Linked DNA regions of Homo sapiens: region 2 is linked to region 1. The links are contacts of gene promoters, found by promoter capture Hi-C in blood cells and fetal thymus (Javierre and others, 2016). All regions are on one chromosome and are shown on one strand. The core of a region is centred on a gene start or on the middle of the fragment in contact, and the rest is flanking DNA. Distances in the headings are between cores, read along the strand shown.

Region 1 (3,359 bases), core at 476-2,975:
TTAATCCTTGAGAGCACAAGCCTCAAGAAATGGGTTCATGATATAACACAATTTGAATAAATCACAACACAGCAGCCTAACAGCTCTTTTGAAAATATGAGGGGCGCCATGGCTAATGCTTATAATCCCAGCACTGTGGGAGTGGCCACCAGCGGGTGGATCAGAAGGTCAGGAAATTGAGAACATCTTGGCCAACAGGGTGAAACTTGGTATCTACTAAAAATACAAAATTTAGATCGGCGTGGTGACTAAAAGATCCCAGCTACTGGGGAGGCTGAGGCATGAGAATCGCTTGAACCCGGAGGCAGAGGTTGCAGTGAGCTAAGATCATGCCACAGCACTCCAGCCTGGTGACAAGCCAAGACTCAGTTTCAAAAAAAAAAAAAAAAAAAACCCCAAACATGTCCAATAGTTCACTCACTTATGTCTTTCTGTTCTTCTGTAAGAGGCTTCTTTATTTCACACTCTTTAAAACTGCAGTGCTCAAAACCCCATTGATCCTTCCAACAGCCCTACTTTTTTCTCCCCCCAGCCTTCAGCACCTGTGAACATACTGTAACTTCCCTCTCCTCCCAGCAGGATGTAAGCTTCAACAAGAAAGAGGGATAGATTTTGTTGTCCAACCATTTTGTACCCGGACATATCCTTAAGGGTGGGCCCACATAACAACACCTGGCATGTATTAGGCTCTCAATAGTTACTAAAAGATGGCAAGCCCAGGTTCTCAGCGACATTATGGACCACAATAGTGCTCAAAGTTGAGGTCAGAGAGCTGTTCGACCCGCTGTTTCCAAACAGGATGTCCTAACTTTTTTCTCAGGGACCTTTTCATTACAGTGCAAGGACAAGTTCCGTGTGCAGCAAGTCTTCACCAACGAAAATCTCACATAAATAAGCAAACAGTGTTCCCACGAAATAGCAAGCCACAGGTACACAGCATGCACTTTTGAGTAAAAAGCAAATACAGTTATACTCACAAATACACCAGTTAGTTTATCCAGCATCCAATGCTTCGGCGCTGCAACACGCTTCAAGTGCTTCTTGGGGCCCCGGGCCTGAAAAAGACACCAAACTTTTTCAGAGAAACTCGTCTCAGTTAACAGTAAAATGTCTTTATCTTCAGCTGTAACAACTGCTAACGGGTAATACCGGATCGGAGGAGAAAGGACAGTCCAGGCTATTTCACGCCCAGTTTTGAGCAAATATTACTTCCTGCCAGACTCCAGAACAAACCCCGCAAAACTCCCAGACCTTTGACAACCTCACGAGTCTCTCTGGCGTCTGTCAAGACAGCGTCCACAGTGCTCTCCAAGCGAATCTGAGACTGCTTCAACGTATGGATATAAGCTAACCCGCGTAAAAAGCCAGTGCTGGGCTGCGGAGTCAAGGGTGGACTTGTAAGGTTAGCCGAGGAAGCTTATTCCTAACAAGACTCACGTGCCAACAGCACCACCGGCGCCCAGGCCGAGCACAAGGGCCAGCCCGGAACCCCCAGCCGCACTCTTCTCAGACCTCCGCTCTCCAAATCGGGTTTCCTGAAGCAGCACCAGCAGCATTCCCACCCGCCAAGCAGCGGTACCCGAAAAGTAAAAGCTTGCCAAGATGGAAGGCCCTTCTTCAAAGGATGGAGGCAGATAAATCCGGAGCTAGGACGCAGACGTCTTACCATGGCGAAATCCCGCGACGGAACAGAACCTCTCCTTTTACGGTGCAACCGTAATCTGCGGTGATAAACAGCGGGAAGTCAAATGAGTGAGAATTTCAGTTCCAGATTCCGCCTCGGGTAACCAACCTATTATTCTTCCGTTGTAGAGGTCACAGCTCGGAACTGAGTTTCTTAGCATATTCAGTTTCTGATACTGATTCATAGGTGTCAGTTATGCCACGGGACTTTTTGTTGTGCTTCCTCCCCTCAGGTCGGCTAAGCTGGGAGGACGCAGTTTACACTCTAAAAATTATCTTTCGCCAACTTTAAAAATATTTAACAGAAGCTCTGAAGGAGCAGGATTTAGCCGCCTTAAAAAAAAAAAAGCCAATCGTTAAGAAATAACCTGTATGATTCCTTGTGACTGTGACATGTTGTATTGTAAAATCATGATTTAAGAAACAATTCGTTTTTCTGAATTAGGGCCAATTTCACAGGTTTGAGAATGTATTAAAATCGTCTGTATTGTCAACTTTGAAAGGGTAGGTTTTATGGGACGTGAATTGTAAGTTCAATACCTTGTTTTGCATTAACTTGAGGTGATGGTTGCACAACTCTGTGCATGTCCCTAAAACCTCCAAAACAATTCACTTTTAAAAAGGTGAACTCGGCTATGTAAGTTGTACCACGCTCGCATGTGTGTGATGTCACAGCTTTATTGAGGTGGAATTGCTATACAAAACACAACCAGCCAAATGGACTTCCTTAATCTGTACCGTTTGACGAGTTCGGACATAGGCGTAAACCCACGGAACCATCATCACAATCGAGGTAATAAACATCTCCATCACCATCAAAAATTTCCTTGTGTTATTTTCTAGGTATTTCTTTTCTTTTTCTTTTTCTTTTCCTTTTCTTTCTTTCTTTTATTGTGTTTTTGAATGTGGCAGGGTCTGGCTCTGTCGCACCGGGTGGAGGGCAGGGGCGCCATCTCAGGTCCCGGCAGCCTCGACTTTCCGGGGGTTGAGTGTTCCTCCCACCTCAGCCTCCCACAGTGCTGAGACCCACAGGCACCTGCCAGCACTTTACGGAATTTTTATTTTTATTTATTTATTTATTTATTTATTGAGACGGAGTCTGGCACTGTCGCCGGGGCTGGAATGCAATGGCGCGATCTCGGCTCACTGCAACCTACACCTCCTGGCTTAAAGCCATTCTCCTGCCTCAGCCTCCTGAGTCGCTGGGATTACAGGCGCCCGCCACCAGGCCTGGCTGTTTTTTTGTACTTTTAGTATAGACAGGGTTTCACTGTGTTGGCCAAGCTTGTGTCAGACTCCTGACTTCATGAACCACCGACTCTGCCTCCCAAAGTGCTGGGATTACAGGCATGAGCCACCAAGCCTGGCCTCCAGCTTTTCTTTTCTTTTTCCTTTAACTGTAGAGAGAACACAACACAGTAACATCGACCATTTTTACCAATTTGTAAGCGCGTAACAGTGCCTAAAATGTTTTTGTTGTTATGTTTTGTTTGTCTTTGCATTCAATTCCTTGATTCAAGTCTATAGGCACTGTATGTGCCAGCTAGCAAGACAGCAGGCTGGAATAGATCTGAACTCCACACTGTTTGCTCTGTACTAGTATTCACCTCTTCTATTCTGAGACTCCTAGACTCCTTTTGCCATTACTTAGGTCCCTTTGCTGCTTTTGTGGTAGG
Region 2 (3,130 bases), core at 458-2,957, 490 kb before region 1:
ACAGCATACTTAAATATTCTTGCCTGCCATCTCTGAAGAGAGCAGCATCTGTCAAGAAGGATTCTCCCAGCACAGTGCTCCAGCTCTGCTAAGGGACAGACTACCTGCTCAAGTAGGTCCCTGACACCCATGACTCCTAACTGGGAGATACCACCAAACAGGAGTAGACAGACACCTTGTACAGGAGAGCTGTGGCTGGCATCAGGCCAGTGTCCCTCTGGGATGAAGCTTCCAGAGGAAGGAGCAGGTGGCAATCCTTTCTGTTCTGCAGCCTCCACTGGTGACACCCAGGCAAACAGGGTCTGGAGTGGACCTCCCGCAAACTGCAGCAGACCTGCAGAAGAGGGACCTGACCGTTAGAAAAAAACAAACAGAAAGAAACAATATCACCATCAACAAAAGGACCCCCACTAAAAAAACCTGTCCAAAGATCATCAGCCTCAAAGAGCAAAGGCAGATAAATCCATGAAGATAAGAAAAAAAAAACAAAAAACATGCTGAAAATTTAAGGAACCAGAATACCTCATCTTCTCCAAATGATTGAAATTCCTCTCCAGCAAGGGCAGAAAACTGGATGGGGAATGAGTTTCATGAGTTGATAGAAGTAGACTTCAGAAGGTGGGTAATAAAAAACTCCTCTGAATTAAAGGAACATGTGCTAACCCAATGCAAGAAAGCTAAGAACCTTTATAAAAGGTGACAGAAATTGCTAACTAGAATACCCAGTTTAGAGAAGAATATAAATGACCTGAAGGAGCTGAAAAACAGTGCTAAAACCTTTGTGAAGCATACACAAGTATCAATATCCAGATTAATCAGGTGGAAGAAAGGATATTAGAGGTTGAAGAAGAGCTTACTGAAATAAAACATGAAGACAAGGTTAGAGAAAAGAAAAGGAATGTGAAGTAGAAAATTAAAAGAAAATTAAAGCTTGCTTAAAAATTGTTGTTAGAGTTAGGATGGAATAGGCCTCAAATAGCCCCCTTCCAAAGTACGAGTTAAGAAAGAATACTAACTACTTCTCTGTGAAATATTAACCATATCTACCCTCTGCATATTTTGTAAGTTCTCTAAGTTTCTGTTTTACTGCTGAACAGCTGAAAGGTCACAAGATAGATAACCACTAGCTGTAAAACATGTTTTATCAAAGATGTAAGACGTGTCACAGATGATTAACTGCTTTTGTTCTCGCTTCTGTAAGCCTGCTTCCTGCCTCATGTACTGCCTGCCTTAAGATGCATAAAAGGCCGGGAGCAGTGGCTCATGCCTATAATCCCAGCACTTTGAGAGGCCGAGGCAGGCAGATCACGAGGTCAGGAGATCAAGACCATCCTGGCTAACAAGGTGAAACCCCGTCTCTACTAAAAATACAAAAACTTAGCCAGGCATGGTGGCAGGCACCTGTAGTCCCAGCCACTCAGGAGGCTGAGGCAGGAGAATGGTGTGAACCCGGGAGGTGGAACTTGCAGTGAGCTGAGATCACACCACTGCACCCCAGCCAGGGTGACAGAGTGAGACTCTGCGTCAAAAAACAAAAACTGCATAAAAGATACTTGCCTTGTTTGTTTGGTGCTCAGACTTTCTGGACACTAGTCCACTGAGCCAGTGTATACCTTAAATAATAAATCGTCCTTTGACCCCATCAGTCTCTCCAGTCTCTGATTTCCTGTAACATTTTCTAGGGGCTCATCCAGGATTGGAGATGGCAAATGTTCTGTCTCCTTTGCCCATAGGACTGGAGCCCAAGAGCAGGGGATACCTGAAATCCTAGGCACTGACAGGAGAACTTCAGACTGGAGAGGAGACCAGCTCTCCTGCATCCCGGTGCCCTTCCCTAACAGCACAATGGAACTGGCAAAGGGGCTACAGGACAATTCCAGGAGCTGCGTGCATTCTTCAAAAACGTGGTAAGGCCTGAAGCCCCAAGTCAAGACCCATCCCATAAGGATGAAACGGGGGCCTAATCACTTCCCAGGGTGTGACTACTCGTCTAACACAGAGGGGCTGAGGAAAGTGGGAGTGACCTGCCAGTTTGGATGAAACTTACAACCTAACTGTCACAGCACATGAAAGAGGCTCACTAAGTCAGTTTAGGAAAATAAAAACTGAAACTAGACGTAGCAAGAATGAGTTGCCACCCTAATTAAAAAACGTGAACTGGGAGTGAAGAGGCATGTGAAAGCACATTAAAGAGACAGTTCTGGGAAGGGCCAACATGGGGCATGACAGGTGAAGGCACAGATCTCTTAATGTGGACTGTGGGCTCTGGAGCCAGTGTGTGGCTGACCAGATCTAGAGCGATCTGTATAAGGCTGACAGGAGCTGCCCTACAGCTGCAGCAGCTGCAGTGGGAATACGATACTGTCCTAGCTAAGCAGTGCATGAAATTCCCGTAATAGGAACCAGTCTGATCAGTCTGTAACAAAAGGTAGAGTGAGTGTGTGTCATAAAAGGAGGAATGGGAGGAAAATCATCAAAAGCTTCTCCATTGGAGTGCATGTTAAATAATTCTGGGAAACGCTTTGGAGGAGATTATGGGGTAAAACTGACCCCCCAAAGGTTGAGAACTCTCTGTGAATTAGACTGGCCTTCTTTTAATGTTGTGTGGCCTGCCAAAGACACAATAGATAGGGAAGAAATTGGCCATGTGTTTAAGGAAGTGACAGGGGTTGGAGAACAGCCTGGGAATCTAGATCAGTTCCCATATATTGATTCCTGGTTGAACATGGTTCTAACACATCCCAAATGGATACAACCTTATTTGACAAGTTATTGTAAGTCTCTGGTAGCCTGAGCTATACCTAAGGAAGTTGAGAAGTCTATCTCAATAGGAGCCTCAGAGGAGAAGAAAAAGCAACAGAGTAGTCAGGAAAAAACAGTCTTCCAAACGCTTTCCAAGGAAAGAAAGTTTCCTCCTTCTTATGCTCCAATACACCCATCCTTGTCAGGGCTAAGACAAGGCAGAAAGCAAATGGCCCTCGAGGAATCAGGCTCAGAGAAAAGTGAGTCTCAAGCAGCATAACCCCATGGAGGGGATCCTGAGCCCCTGCCCATAAAAACCAAAGAGGAAAGGCAGGATTAAACAGCAAGCCACTTCTGGTCAGGCTGCACCCAAGCCTTGCAAATGCTC

Evidence for each region. Contacts are between HindIII fragments. The CHiCAGO score rates a contact against its expected background, and 5 or more counts as called.
Region 2: a contact is called between a fragment that was not itself captured here and the fragment with the promoter of RPS4Y2 in region 1, in 1 of 17 cell types (naive B cells). The highest score is 6.5, in naive B cells.

The regions. Positions count from the first base shown.
Region 1 is chrY:20,754,474-20,757,832 of GRCh38, reverse strand. It overlaps RPS4Y2 (ribosomal protein S4 Y-linked 2), which reads right to left and starts at 1,725. Exons shown (of 7, transcript NM_001039567.3): 1 at 1,667-1,725; 2 at 978-1,055. The coding sequence starts at 1,669. The HindIII fragment of the contact is 1,374 bases long and covers 1,596-2,969 here.
Region 2 is chrY:21,247,754-21,250,883 of GRCh38, reverse strand. LOC107987346 (a long non-coding RNA gene) reads right to left here. Exons shown (of 4, transcript XR_007068467.1): 3 at 176-334. LOC107987347 (a long non-coding RNA gene) reads left to right here. Exons shown (of 3, transcript XR_001756079.2): 3 at 1,734-2,819. Among named protein-coding and RNA genes, the nearest start is that of PRORY, 200 kb to the left of the region's middle. The HindIII fragment of the contact is 1,550 bases long and covers 933-2,482 here.